Regions from separate parts of the Homo sapiens genome. Here all the other regions are linked to region 1. Evidence: promoter capture Hi-C in 16 types of primary human blood cells and fetal thymus (Javierre and others, 2016). All regions are on one chromosome and are shown on one strand. The core of a region is centred on a gene start or on the middle of the fragment in contact, and the rest is flanking DNA. Distances in the headings are between cores, read along the strand shown. Region 1 holds the start of PTGER2 (prostaglandin E receptor 2). Region 2 has its middle 150 kb from the start of DDHD1-DT. Region 3 overlaps DDHD1 (DDHD domain containing 1).

Region 1 (4,959 bases), core at 962-3,461:
GGTGGAAGTCACTATTAACTGCTTTGATGCTGCAGCATCAGTCTTGCTCTTCTGAAGATTAGGAAGTGGAGTTGCCACAACTCCCAATTCCTAGCCCCCGTAAGAGGCCAGCACATTCTCGGACATATTCCAGGCTCAGCTAAAACGTTACACTTGAGGAGACTTGAACTCACAGCCTCATATCATTTAGCAGTTAGTTAGCATCAAATAACTGCTAAAGTTGCCCCAAATCAAGGCAGCACGATGCCAGGACTTGGTCTCTTGTCCTTCAGTTCCCCAGGTAGCCCCACTCTTCCCTTCCTGAGAGGGACCAGCCATTCCTGCCTGTGGCTTTGTGCTCATCAAGTGCATAACTGTAAGCTGAAGGACACCTGTGTGTATTTCTGACAGTGACATTAAGAGCGTGTTTTGCAAGATATTACAAATGCTTAGCAAGATGTTCCTCCAAGTATTTCCTCTAGTTATCATTATGGTTTTATAAACTTTCATGGCCACAAAGAGTTACATTCAAATATATAAATTGGGAAACCTATAAACTAGATGTTTGTTGGACTTTTAGGACAAATAACAAATGCTCTAAACTTCTGCTTCAGGGACCCTTCTCATCTGGGACCATTTTCAATGGCAGCTGGAATGCTATGGGTTGGGTACTACATTTTGCCCTGGCAGGAACAGAAGGCAAGCATGGAGAACCAGCACCAGTGGATGAGAGGTACAGGGCAGCAAACTGCAGCTCCAGGTCGTCAGGCTGGAACAGTGACAGCCATCCTAAGGTGGAAGGGGCTGCCTCTTTCTCAATTACTAAGCCAAGATAGGCAACAGCGAGAAAGGGACACTGCCCAGGGCTAGGATGAGGAGATTGGCTAGCTTAGCTGAGGCCCAGGACTCCCTTTCGGACGGTCTGTATTATTGTATAAGAAACTCTAGCCTAGCAACGCCCATAAGCCAGGATAAGGAAGTGGGCTAAAGAGGAGGGGAAACTAGTGGGGAAGGCTACAGATCTTTACAAATTAGGACATATTTTTACAAGTTGCAAAAAGTTTGTAGGGCGGTGGAAAGGGTGGAGGCGTCAGGGGAGAGCATGAGAAGGCTGAGCAGAGCCGGGCTGTGGAAACGTAGGGAGTGACTTACCGTGAAAGGCAAGGAGCAGACGGCGAAGGTGATGGTCATGATAGCCAGGAGAATGAGGTGGTCCGTCTCCTCCGCCATGGACACCCTTTCCCCTCTCCTGCGGGCCCCGGGGCCGCCCCGGCCACTGCCCAGGGAAGGTCCGCAGCGGCTTCTCCGGCTTCGGCGGTGCATGCGGATGAGGTTGAGAATGACACTGAAGTTGCAGGCGAGCACCGAGACAATGAGAAGCAGCAGCAGGGTGGCGTACAGCTGCAGGTAAGCGGTCCGCCCGTGCCGGATGAAGCACCAGGTCCCGGGGCAGTACTGGACGTACTGCCCATAGTCCAGCAGCGGCAGCGAGCAGAAGAGCAGGGAGACTGCATAGATGACAGGCAGCACGGCCAGGCCCCCGGAGCGCGAGACGCGGCGCTGGTAGAAGTAGGGGTGCCCGATCGAGAGGTAGCGCTCCAGGGCCATGGCGAAGAGCATGAGCATCGTGGCCAGGCTGAAGAAGGTCATGGCGAAAGCGAAGTAGGTGCACGCGCGGCTCTCGGGCGCCAGTGCCACCAGGGTCTGGTTCCGCGCGTACGAAGCCAGTACCACTGGGCTGATGAGGCAGGTCCCGAGCAGGTCGGTGAACACCAGCTCGGTCACCAGCACGTGGAACAAGGAGAGGGAGCTCCTGCGGCCGGCGCTGCACCCCACGTCCCCCCGCCAGCGGCGCGCCAGCAGCGCCAGTGCTATGAGGTTCCCCAGCACCCCGGCCGAGAACATGACGGAGCTGATGGCTGGGCTTTCGCCTGGGGGAAGCCACTGTCGCGTCTCGCAGTCCTCAGACTGGGAGTCATTGGAGGCATTGCCCATGGTGGGGTGCCTGGAAAAGAGATGCGCCCTCCTCTCCCGGCCTTTACCTGGGAGGAAGAGGGTCTGAGAGCCGGAGCGTTCCGAGACTCAGAGGAAAAAGGGGAGGGACCGAAATCCAGAGCCCCCTTCCCGCACCCAGCGCGCCGACGGCGGCTTGCCCTGGGTCTCCCGCCGCGCGCCGAGTGGCGGCTCGGCTGCTGCATCCGAGCGGCGCTCGAGGCTCCCGCGCCTACCCGCGCCGGCCAAGGCCGGGAGCCAGAGCCTAGGGGAGCCGTCGTCTCCGCCCCCGCACTGTCGGGGGGCGGGCCCAAGAGTGCTGGCCAGGCCTTGCAAGTGCGAGTGTCCGCGAGCTGCAGGGGAGGCAGGACGCGTCACACTCGCGGGGGCGTTCCGAGTCCCTGGGGCGCGCCGGCGGGGAGGGAGAGAAGGAGTCTGAGCACCCGCTGGGCGCGGCACTGGGCAGAGGCGCGCGTGTTGCCGGTGTACTGAAGCTGCCCGCGACCGGCGGGAGCGGCGTTTCTCGCTTCCTCGGGGTCCGGTACTCGAAGCGCACGGCAGTCTGACCTCGGCTGGGAAGCGTTAAGCCCCAGCAGAGGGCTGGGAGGGAGTGCAGGAGCACTTGCGGGGTCTGCGCAGAATACACAGAAGATCGGGGCAACGAGCAAAGCAAAGCAACTCACCAAACAATGAAGTTAGGAGAACCCAATCCCGTGAAATGAGCGGAACAAGGGAATAACAGTGCAAAGGCAGCTTGAAGTAAGACCAGAATGTTTTGCTTTGTTTTTACTATTCCCAGGAAGATACACTAAGAGGTTGGGACAAAAATTGGGATGAAGCGTAAAGCAAGTGTGTCCATCCAAGGAACCAAACCACACAATGCGCACCACCGAGCGGCCTGTTGCACTGCCGCTTTGATTCGGTTACTAGCATTTCACCGTTTCCTATGTCAACAGCATAACGGATAACCACTTGTTTAAGCAACCATTAAAAAAAGAGGAGTGTGTCTTATACAGAATTGTGTTTGTGGATACAACATGAAAACCATTGCACATCACTGTTCTGTCCTTAAGCTGAGCCTTGTAAGAAAATGTTGATATTTTGTTTAGCCGTTTATCTTTACATGTTGTTAACCACGTAGTATCCATCCAGAAAGACTTGTTCCTGGCAAAGTGTATTGGTAAGTGGCCAGTTTCAGACTGGAGCTGACAGTAATGGTTTCCTACCACATATTGTCATAATTGCAGAGTCGTGAAAATGGGCTGATATTTAACACAAAACAAAACAAAACAAAATCCAGTTTGGCAGACAACATAGGTAATTGTGTTCTGTAAGAAGTCACATTCACTTGGGGAAGGGAGGCCAACTGGGAAGTGAAGGGTCTGATCTGCCTAGGGAACTGGCAAGAAAGACAGTCATAACGTGGGAGGAAGCAAAGATTGCCTGCTGAAGAGCCTATCTTGCTACAGCCTGCTTACTCTCCATGAATATTTTTTGCCAACTTTGATGATTCTGGCCTGGGGATTGGAATGCGGAGTTGGGGGGGGTGGTTCCCACTAGAACAAGCATAATTTACTGGATCGCTTGCAAAGTTTACAGGCCGGTTTTCACATGTCAGCAGGCACTACTTCAATCCCTAAACTTCTCATGGCATGGATTCCTAGGAAAGAGGATCTTAACTCCTACAGTTTTTCTTTCAAGCTGTAAACTCTGCAGGTCAGTAACAACTTATTACCAATCTTTGCCATCCATCTCTGACTATTCCCCTACTCCAACATTCCCCCATCTCACCCCAAGCAATGGGGAAACATCAAACTTAAATCAGAAGTATTTCTTAATAGGAAAACACTATGATTTATAGCATAATTCTGCACTGCAGTTTTACTATTAAATAAGGGATTTTAGATTCACTGAATTTGCACAGTGCTTATTTTCCGAATATTTTTATACCTTTTTAATTTTCATAAGGCCCCTCACAACAAAAACCTACTATTTAACCTTTCCTATATATTTGTCTCTAGCTTTTCTTTGGATGGGTACCTGGTGGCAGGCCGGCCCCTGGTTTTTGTGAATACGAGAGCAAGAGTGCAGTTGAAGATCCTCCCCCAGGCCCCTGCCCCCTTGTCTTCCTAACCCCTGACTCAGTCTTGCACCACAAGGAGTCTTGCACAGAAATATGTGGAGAGTATAGTTCAATATGTGGACAGTATAGTTCAATATGTGGACACTATAGTTGTTGATAACCAAGCTCTCTCCCCAAAGCCACCTTGGTCCTGGGAATATGCATCTCAAACATGCAAATGACCCTTGATTGGATGGACCTAGGGAAGATGCCTGATCAAGCCCTGGAAGCGAGTTATGGGACCAACATTTGAGCAGGAAATTTCATGATCTCAGGTACCTGGAAGGTGGTCTAGAATGGAGGGGTAATGGGGTCTGGGTGAATAGTGCCCTGAGGGTGTCTCACCTGTGGTAAGGTATGTGACAAGAGGAAGACTAGAGTGGGCCCTATAAATCTTGGGAGGCCAGTATCCTATTAATTACTGTGCTGCTCAGCATTGCTTGTTCAAATTACTCCTTTTAATTGCTTCCAGCATTTGGACAGAATACATACATATGTGTGTGTGTGTGTGTGTGTGTGTGTGTGTGTGTGTTTGGTTTAGCAGTTTGCTGTGTTCCCTGTTGCTAGATTGCTGAGTAGGAGAGTTGATAAGTTTGCTGTCGCTACGTAGCAACTGGACCATCACGTTTGTTCCTTTAAGTGCAAGTCTAATCTTGCTTGTCAGTTACCCCCAGTTAATTTTGTGGTTTAAAAGCTACTTCTTCCCATTTCTAATTTTAGTGTCAGCATTTTGATACAGTTTCAGTTTACATAGAGCCTAGAGTTCCTTAACAGAAAACAGATTAACACCCTCAATTCTAGAATTGAGCCATAGAGCTTTGCTAATTGTTTAGTTCCTGTTTGTGGGGCCATTGTATGTGGGGAAC
Region 2 (4,959 bases), core at 1,061-3,560, 990 kb before region 1:
TAGGTATATAATTATGTCATCAAAGAACAGTGACAGTTTCACTTCCTCTTTACCTATTTGGATGTCCTTTATGTGTTTCTCTTGTCTAATTGCTCTGGCTAGGACTTCCAGTACAATGTTGAATAGCAGTGGTGAAACTGGGCATCCTTGTCTTATTCCAGTTCTCAAGAAGAATGCTTCCAACTTTTCCCCATTCAGTATAATGTTGGCCGTGTGTTTGTCCTAGATGGCTTTTATTACCTTAAGGTATGTTTCTTATATGCCGATTTTGCTGATTTTAATCACAAAGCGATGCTGGATTTTGCCAAATGCTTTTTCTGCATCTGTTGAGATGATCATATAATTTTTGTTTTTAATTCTGTTTATGTGATGTATCACATTTATTGATTTGCACATGTTAAACCATCCCTGGTATGAAACCCACTTGATCACGGTGTATTATCTTTTTGATATGCTGTTGAATTTGGTTAGCTAGTATCTTGTGGAGGATTTTTGCATCTGTTTTTATCAGGGATATTGGTCTGTAGTTTTCCTTTTTTTGTTATGTCCTTTCCTGGTTTTGGTATTAGGGTGATGTATTGGTCTGTTTCCATGCTGCTGATAAAGACATACCTGAGACTGGGCAATTTACAAAATAAACAGGTTTAATGGACTACAGTTCCACATGGCTGGGTAGGCCTCACAATCATGGTGGAAGGCAAGGAGGAGCAAGTCATGTCTTAAATGGATGGCAGCAGGGAAAGAGAACTTGTGCAGGGAAACCTCTTTCCCATGTGAAAGACCTACCCCATGATTCAATTACTTCCCACCAGGTCCTCCCACAACACATGGGAATTCAAGATGAGATTTGGGTGGCAACACAGCCAAACCATATCATTTCACCCCTGGCCCCTCCCAAATCTCATGTCCTCACATTTCAAGACCAATGATGGCTTCCCAACAGTCCCCTAAAGTCTTAACTCATTTCAGCATTAACTCAAAAGTCCACAGTCAAAAGTCTCATCTGAGAAAAGGCAAGTCCCTTCCACCTATAAGCTTGTAAAATTAAAAGCATGTTAATTACTTCCTAGATACAACAGGGGTACAGGCATTGGGCAAATACAGCCATTCCAAGTGGGAAAGATTGACCAAAACAATGTTAACAGATGTTGGCACGGATGTGGTGAAAAGGCAACACTTTTATACTTCTGGTGGGTATGTAAACTGGTACAAACACTATCGAAAATAGTATGGGGATTCCTTAAAGAACTAAAAGTAGAACTACAATTTGATCCAGCAGTCCCACTACTGGGTATCTACCCAGAGGAAAATAAGTTATTATATGAAAAAACACACTTGCACACACGTTTATAGCAGCACAATTCTCAATTGCAAAAACATGAAAGCAACCAACAAGTGGATAAAGAAAATGTGAGATACATACATACACACACACACACACACACACACACACACACACCATGGAATACTACTGAGCCATAAAAAGGAATGAAATAATGGCATTTGTAGCAACCTGGATGGAGTTGGAGACCATTATTCTAAATGAAGTAACTCGGAAATGGAAAACCAAAAGTCACATGTTTTCATTTATAAGTGGAAGCTAAGCTATGAGGACCCAAACACCTAAGAATAAAATAATGGATTCTGGGGACTCAGGGTGAAGCGTGGGAGGGGGGTAAGGGATAAAAGACTACAAATAGGGTGCAGTGTACACTGCTCAGGTGTACCAAAATCTCAGAATCACCACTGAAGAACTTTTCCATGCAACCAAACACCACCTGTTCCCCAAAAAAAACTATTGAAATTAATTAAATAAATAAATAAATAAATACCTATAGAAGCCCTAAAAACTAAAAGGTTACAAGACTACTACTTCCCATATATACAATGTTAACACATAAAATCGGTATAAAGAAATTAATAAAGGTAATTTTTCTCAGAATGACCATTTTGATAAGTTTTTTCATATATCAAATTATTTCCAAAATATTTTTGGTACCACTGCTTGAGTACAGGCTTAATCTGCCTACTTGATAACCCAATATTATATATACAGGTAGGCAGATGAATGAAAAGAATGAAAAAAGAGGTAGATGAGAGATAGACATATAGATGAATAGGGGCTATATTTTAACTGCTCACATAATATTTCAAAGTCTATTTAAATGAAGATACGAGATTAATTAGAATGTTATCTATATTCCTCAAAAATGACTCTTCTTCTTGCAAAGGTAGATTATGGTATTCTAAAACTTAAAAGGACTACAGAAATCATCATGCCAACCACTTTCCAGATGAGGAAACTTAGGCTAAAAAGATAAAAGCCAGGATCACACAGTTGGTGAGTGCCAGAATGAAACCAGATCCTAAATGTCCTGCTATCTAGCAAAGCAGTTCTCTACAATACAATCCCACCTTCCTTGATAATACTAAGTTGCTTAGCAAACAAGATCTTCATAAATGTTGCAAGGATAAATTTCCTTTCAGTCTGCCCGAAGCAAATAACCACAATTTGCTTAGTATTAGTAAAACTCAGATCATCTAGGCATTGTCACCCCTTCAAGTTGCCCTCAGAGTGGGACAGTCAACTTGGAACAAAGTTTGACTTAACACAAGTTTCCCAGGTCTGAGAAATATGGCAAGAGGTGGGATTTATTGTTGTTGTTGCTTATCAAAACAGTGAGAAATGGCATGTTAATCAGCGAAGGACAAATTGTGGCTGTCATTTCCTTTTTCTCTAAAAGGTAAATATGTATAGACTGCAAATCATGTCCAGGAGAACTTATTTCTCACATCCCCATCCATCAGTTTGCTCTCAACTGCTCTCAACAAAGTGAGGAACCAGCTTTAAAATAGCTCTGAAATGGAAGGCTACTCTAGGTATGAAATATCCCATGGACCAAACCCAATAATCTCACTTCTCTTGAGTGCTCTCTTATTCTGACATCCAGCATGGTCACAAATAGCTTTTAAAACTGGACCAGGTACAGAAACCAGTCAAAGAAAATAAGAGGATAAAATTTGGAGAAGCCCGTCATGGATTTTAGCTTCCAAGCATATCACCAAAACTGTAATGTTCAACAACTTAAGCAGACATTCTCAGTGACTTCAGTTGACTTCAATGAATTCTGTTTCAGTCCATTTACCACAAAACAGTATGCCAAGGAAGGGACCCCACAGAGAGGAACTTCTCCTATCTAGTCATACCCTACCAACTCAGGTCTGAGGTCCTGATACTAAAAAGCTAAGTAACAAAGAAAATAATTTTTGTGCCTCTGAAGCCATTTTTCGAGGTGAGATGTTTCGCTCCTAGCCAAGCAAAGCTGCAGAATCTGTAGAATGTTGTCTTGCTCCCTCCTTGTCACCAGCCTGCCCTTTAACCCACCACTGAATGCCCTTTTTCTGCTCCAAGACAGCTATTGAATCACCACATTATACTCCCTGACCCTGCGGGGCCATGGTACAATATCAGAATGTCAAACTGGGTCTGAAAAGGGCTTTGTGTGGGATGAGACAAGACTCTAAGGATAGTAGAGCTGCTGAATCACTCAGGATCTGACCACAAATAGTGCTACGCTAAGCTTGCTGGGTAAAACTGCTGCCAGAAGCCCCTGTTAAATTTCTGGGCTAATTATGGAGGGTGGGAGGGTGACCTTGGAGGCAAGTTGTACTTAACACAGAGACCAGGAAGCCTAAGGGAAGAAACCCAAGTTGTACATCCTCATAAATACAATTTAAAATTCTCTAATTTAATAAAAGCATGCGATCCTACGACAAGGTAGTTTTCCTTAGGAGCAGGTGCACTGCAATTTTTTTTTTAATTTTCATATTAAATCTTCAGAGAGTTACACGGTAGATGGCAGCCTGGAAATACGCTGATGTATCCTGGCAGAATTTCAGACATAATGATTTTTTTTTCCTCTGTAAATCTTCCATCAGTGGGAAGGAAAGCCCTGCCAAAACTGAGAAACCCAAGCTGGAGGCAGCGAGGCTCCCACTCAGAGCACGGCGACATGCCAAGGCTTTCAAGGCCAAATCGGAAACAACCACGTTGAGTTCATTAAAACGACTGAATGATCAAAGTCATGCAAGCCTTCACAAAGGCAAAAATTAATCTGTTTAATACTTGGCTAAATTCTCAAGTGCTAAAGTAAATTTGAAACGAAATTCATCAAACTCCCCCTCTTCCTGTGGAAAAATCCTTTGAGTTCCTCAGAGTGCCCAGCAGATGGCAGAAGCGGTCTTTGTTTCAATCCATGGGCCTCAGCTACCGCGCCATGCCCAAAATTAACGGGAATAGGTACACCTGGGTATAGTTGTATATCTGAATGTGAAAATACACTTTCAGGATATCAGGAATTATATTCCAGTATGGCTAGGGTTATTCTCAGTTATCAATCTCGAGGGAGGAAACGTCCCCAGGAAGTGGTACCAAAAGATGACTCTTGCACATCAATGAAAAGGCCTGTGGAAGGACGACAGTCCAACTACTGGAACCCTGTTTTTATATCTCTCAGGAGCCTCCCACCATGCCCACCCCTCATCTCCCTCCCATTTCCTACTCCTTAAAGACTTGCATACACATTCCTGAGTCTTCAGCAACCTGTGTCCTCGCCACCCAGGTGAAGAAGCTGGGTATGTGCAGGATATTCCCTACTGCAACAATGCCTCCTCAGCCTGCCTCCTCTGCCCAGGTCAGCCTCCACAACCAGAGGTTCTGGGAATTAGGTTCCACTGTCCTGAGCATTATGAATATTGATTCCTGTTGGACAAACTGCAGCTAGTCTAGGATCTCAGATTCCTCCATTTCCCGGGAGGGCAACATATAAAATATTAATACATTTCATCATGAGAAACAAAACTCATTAAAACTACATACATATTCATGAAAATTCTTTCACTGTTTATTTCATGAAATGAAAACATTTTTTCCAACCAGATCAAGGGAGGGAAGAAAAT
Region 3 (4,959 bases), core at 677-3,176, 740 kb before region 1:
ATATACCATACATTGTAAAACAATATGGTAAGTTATAACATATTTTTAAAAGCCGTAAGAGTATGGTCTTTGGAGTGATCCCATTGTAGAATTTGCATTTCATCTCTACTATCATTACTTTTTTTTTTTTTTTTTTTTTTTTTTGAGACAGAGTCTTGCTCTGTCACCCAGGCTGGAGTGCAGTGGCGTGATCTTGGCCCACTGCAACCTCCGCCCCTCCGATTCAAGTGATTCTCCTGCCTCAGCCTCCCGAGTAGCTGGGATTACAGGTGCCCGCCACCACGCCCAGCTAATTTTTGTATTTTTAGTAGAGACGGGGTTTCACCATGTTGGCCAGGCTGGTCTCGAACTCCTGACCTCGTGATCCGCCCGCCACGGCCTCCCAAAGTGCTGGGATTACAGGCGTGGGCCACCGCACCCAGCCTATCAGACTATTTTTATTCTCAAAAATAAACCAGGTTATGGCTGGGCACGGTGGCTCACACCTGTAATCCCAGCACTTTGGGAGGCTAAGGTGGGCGGATCACGAGGTCAGGAGATCGAGACTATCCTGACTAACACAGTAAAAGCCCATCTCTACTAAAAATACAAAAAAATTAGCTGGGCGTGGTGGCGGGCGCCTGTAGTTCCAGCTACTCAGGAGGCTGAGGCAGGAGAATAGCGTGAACCCAGGAGGCGGAGCTTGCAGTGAGCTGAGATCGCACTACTGCACTCCAGCCTGGGTGACAGAGCGAGACTCGGTCTCAAAAAATAAATAAATAAATGAAATAAAATAAACCAAGTTATTTCCCACCTTGGCTTTAGTTCATTTGGTTCTATCAGCCTGGAATGTTATTCTTTCCAGCACCAATATCCAACCCCAGCTGTAGAAACCTTTCTCGTCTTTTACTGGCCAATGCATATGCTACCTCCTCTGTAAAGCCTTCAAAGTTGGAATTATTTTTTTCACTCTCTTAAAGCATTATTTCCCTCTGTTATGCACGTATTTTATTCTGCTTTCCCCACAGGACTGTAAATTTTGAGTGCAGAAGCTGTGTCTTACTGGTCTTTATATCTATCACAGCACCGAGTGTATTACTTCACACAAAGTAGTACCTCAATAAATATTTGATTTGTGTATACAAATATATAAGAAAATGATCCTTATCTTCCTTTTATTCAACTTGTATTAGATTTAAAGATAATGAAGTATCTCATGGAAATAGATTATTCTAGAATGGTTAATGGTTGGCAGAGCCCATCTGGATAACTCTTATTAAAAACGAATATACTCAAAGATATTTTATTATTTGTATTTTGCCATATATTACGTTATGCCCAAATTTTGTTGAAAGATAACACTTCACCATTTTTAAACTTTAAGATGACTTTATCATTTTAGGTTGAGAATTTCTTCTGTATGGGATCCCCATTAGCAGTTTTCTTGGCGTTGCGTGGCATCCGCCCAGGAAATACTGGAAGTCAAGACCATATTTTGCCTAGAGAGATTTGTAACCGGTTACTAAATATTTTTCATCCTACAGATCCAGTGGTGAGTTGCAATATAGACTCTTTTTTTTCTCAATGTCAAATTGTTCCTAAAAAGAATCTATCAGCTGGGCACAGTGGCTCACGCTTGTAATCCCAGCACTTTGGGAGGCTGAGGCGGGCGCATCATCTGAGGTCAGGAGTTCAAGACCAGCCTGACCAATGTGGTGAAACCTCATCTCTACTAAAAATACAAAAATTAGCTGGGCGTGGTAGTGGGTGCCTGTAAGGCAGGAGAATCACTTGAACCTGGGAGGTGGAGGTTGGACTGAGCCAAGATCATGCCACTGCACTCCAGCTTGGGTGACAGAGTAGTGAGACTCCATCTCAAACAAAAAGAAAAAAGCCGGGCGTGGTGCTCATGCCTGTAATCCCAGCACTTTGGGAGGCCAAGGCAGGCAGACTGCCTGAGCTCAAGTTCGAGACTAGCCTGGGCAACATGGTGAAACTCCATCTCTACTAAAATACAAAAAATTAGCTGGGCACGGCTGTAATCCCAGCTACTCGGGAGGCTGAGGCAATAGAATTGCTTGAACCTGGGAGGCAGAGGTTGCGGTTAGCCGAGATTGTGCCACTGCACTCCAGCCTGGGCAATAGAGCGAGACTCTGTCTCCAAAAAGTAAAAATCTGTCTAAGACATCTTACAAGGTGCCATCGAATTAATGAAAACACTTCATTTATCTGATTATTAAACGTGTGTTTTGGTTAATTTAGGGCTCATGAGATAAAGTACCTTAGAGATGGTCTGGTTATGTTGCACCTGTAATACAAGAGTGTAATGTAAAAATATTATTCCCAGACAGTTAGTACAAGAGACAGGAGTCTACTGGACTTTCAAACCTTAACCAATTGTAATACCAGTAACCTAGAAACCATAAATCTTAAAAATCCTGCTCTAAATACTTTTTTAATCTAAAGTATGCTACAATATTGGAATGTATTTTGTAGACTCTCTGAAAAATGAAAATATTCAAATACTGAACATCAAAATAAAACTTTATTATAGCCTAATAGAATTGTAAGATGTTGGATTTTTCTATTCTCTATTATGTTTATGCTGTAAATATTTTTTTTAATGGAAGCACTCCAAGAACCTTGCATCCTGTTAAACAGTGTAATGCCAAGTAAGATTTTCAGACAAGAAAAATGCCCCCTTAATACTTCTTTGGGACAAGGCTGGTTTAACTAAATATTAAACTATTTTAAATAGCATTTATTCTCTGAAAAAATAGCTTCATATAATTGTGGAAAGTCTTTTAAAGGATCCTTTTAGCTAGTACCAAATAAATATAACATTGACTAACCATTCGAATTTTAGAAAATCTCTCATATGTTAAAGACTTACAACTGCCATATTAACTTCACTGAACTGGAAGTTTAATATAAGATTCAAATACAAACTGCACAATCCTGGGCAAGTTATTTCTGAGATTGTATCTTATCTGTATGATGTAGATGATAATATTTTGCCTTCTAGGATTGTTAGGATTAAGTAAAATATATATACACCCAGCTAGACAATAAGCATTTCATTAACATATACTCATTTTATTCATTGTCTCGTAACTTGAAAGTGAATTTCAGTTCATAGGTCTGCTCTGAGCCCTGTCCTTTGTATAACTTAAACTTTGTTGTAACTTTAAAGGAGGATTCCAAACTCTTAAATTTTTATTATTCATTTTATAGTTTTTCTGTGATTTTTAAAAAAATTAATACTTTGTTAAATAGTTTACGTCAGAACGGTGCAAGGCAGTTTTTACAAATGTTATCTGTTCTTTCTCACATCTCTGTAAGAGAGGAAGTGTTACCTCCTTTCTACAGCTCAGGAAACTCAGGGCTCCGAGACCTAGTGACTTAACAAGCATCATGCAATTAATAAGTGACAGAGGCTGGGCGCAGTGGCTCTCTATTATCCCAACCCTTTGGGAGGCTGAGGTGGGAGGATTGCCTGAGCCCAGGAGTTTGAGACCAGCCTGGGCACCAAGGCGAGACCCCATCTCCATCTTAAAAAATAAAATTTTCTAAAAATGTAAATTAAAAAATAAGTGATAGAAACCAGAATATGAATTTGGGGGATTCTGATGCCGTATCCATTGCCTTTTCTGCTGTCTCATTGCTACTTCACATCAGACAGATGCTCTTATGCTGGCATCTGATTTATGCTGTTACTGTATCAATCTATTTTAAAACAGAGCTTAAATAGAGCTCCTAAAATATTAAAAATTGGCCTTATTTGCTGTTTCCCAGGATTACCATCTACTACTTCAACTTTGCTCCTAAGACTAAAATAAATCTAATTGTTACATATCAGAACATAATAAAAATATTTCTCTGAAAAACTAATTGATAGACACTATTAGCCTAGACTGTTTTTCATAATCTCATCATTAGATCAAGTGCATATTAACAGTGAACAAATAGAAATACATGTTTGAAATAGCTATTGTTTTTTAATTAAATTCCTTCTCGGAGGTTTACTTAACATGCAGTAGAGTAAGAACAGTTTACTAAAATCCAAGCATTGTGATTTAACACTGTGTTTCTTTGAATTTTTTTTTTTAAATCAAGGCTTATAGATTAGAACCATTAATACTGAAACACTACAGCAACATTTCACCTGTCCAGATCCACTGGTACAATACTTCAAATCCTTTACCTTATGAACATATGAAGCCAAGCTTTCTCAACCCAGCTAAAGAACCTACCTCAGTTTCAGAGAATGAAGGCATTTCAACCATACCAAGCCCTGTGACCTCACCAGTTTTGTCCCGCCGACACTATGGAGAATCTATAACAAATATAGGCAAAGCAAGCATATTAGGTAATTTCTCTTATGTATTCCTTATCTATGCATATAAGCACTTTCCTAGACATAAGTTTGGGGGACTAGAAGTATTCTATGTATTAGGAAACTCCCAGCAGTTAATCCCTGTGTCTAGAATTAACTACCCTCCCAATGTTCATATTTGAGGCCCAAAAAGCTCTAAAGTTCTCTGATTAGATCAGATCTTATAGTTTTAGAATATAAGATAGCTGGATGGACCAGAAAAAGCTGTTATGAGAATCAAGTCCCTCATTTTAATCTTGGTCCTACCACTTGCTGTGAGATCTTGAGTAAATAATATAGTTTTTAATGCTCTACTTGCTCATCTGTGAAATGAGAAAGCACTTGTGTCAGAGGGTGCTCCCTGTCAACCAGTTCTCTGATCTATTCTAAAAGTCTCTCAAACTGTGTGATTCCTGAGGGCAACAAGGATGTTTAATTTTTCTTTGAATGATCTCCAGTACTGGCACAATGTTTGCTGTATCACTGGAACTCGATTATGTGGTATTTGAATCTGTCCATTGCCTTTGGTTACAAGTTGCCTTAATGTAAAATACCACAAGGTGGCACTATAAATAGGCTTTATCTCCTGGACTCATTGGCTGTTT

The links. The method cuts DNA at HindIII sites, captures the fragments that hold promoters and counts their contacts. A CHiCAGO score of 5 or more calls a contact.
Region 2: a fragment that was not itself captured here is called in contact with the fragment with the promoter of PTGER2 in region 1 in 1 of 17 cell types (erythroblasts); the score reaches 7.7 in erythroblasts.
Region 3: a contact is called between a fragment that was not itself captured here and the fragment with the promoter of PTGER2 in region 1, in 2 of 17 cell types (naive B cells and total B cells). The highest score is 6.6, in naive B cells.

The regions. Positions count from the first base shown.
Region 1 is chr14:52,311,564-52,316,522 of GRCh38, reverse strand. It overlaps PTGER2 (prostaglandin E receptor 2), which reads right to left and starts at 2,211. Exons shown (of 2, transcript NM_000956.4): 1 at 1,132-2,211. The coding sequence starts at 1,974. RefSeq lists enhancers at 1,317-1,456, 1,477-1,626, 1,861-2,420, 2,421-2,981 and a silencer at 2,147-2,256. The HindIII fragment of the contact is 17,361 bases long and covers 1-4,959 here.
Region 2 is chr14:53,305,652-53,310,610 of GRCh38, reverse strand. No RefSeq gene overlaps it. Among named protein-coding and RNA genes, the nearest start is that of DDHD1-DT, 150 kb to the right of the region's middle. RefSeq lists an enhancer at 4,066-4,360. The HindIII fragment of the contact is 2,546 bases long and covers 1,038-3,583 here.
Region 3 is chr14:53,055,049-53,060,007 of GRCh38, reverse strand. DDHD1 (DDHD domain containing 1) reads left to right here. Exons shown (of 13, transcript NM_001160148.2): 9 at 1,382-1,531; 10 at 4,096-4,348. Among named protein-coding and RNA genes, the nearest start is that of DDHD1, 96 kb to the left of the region's middle. The HindIII fragment of the contact is 4,563 bases long and covers 1-4,207 here.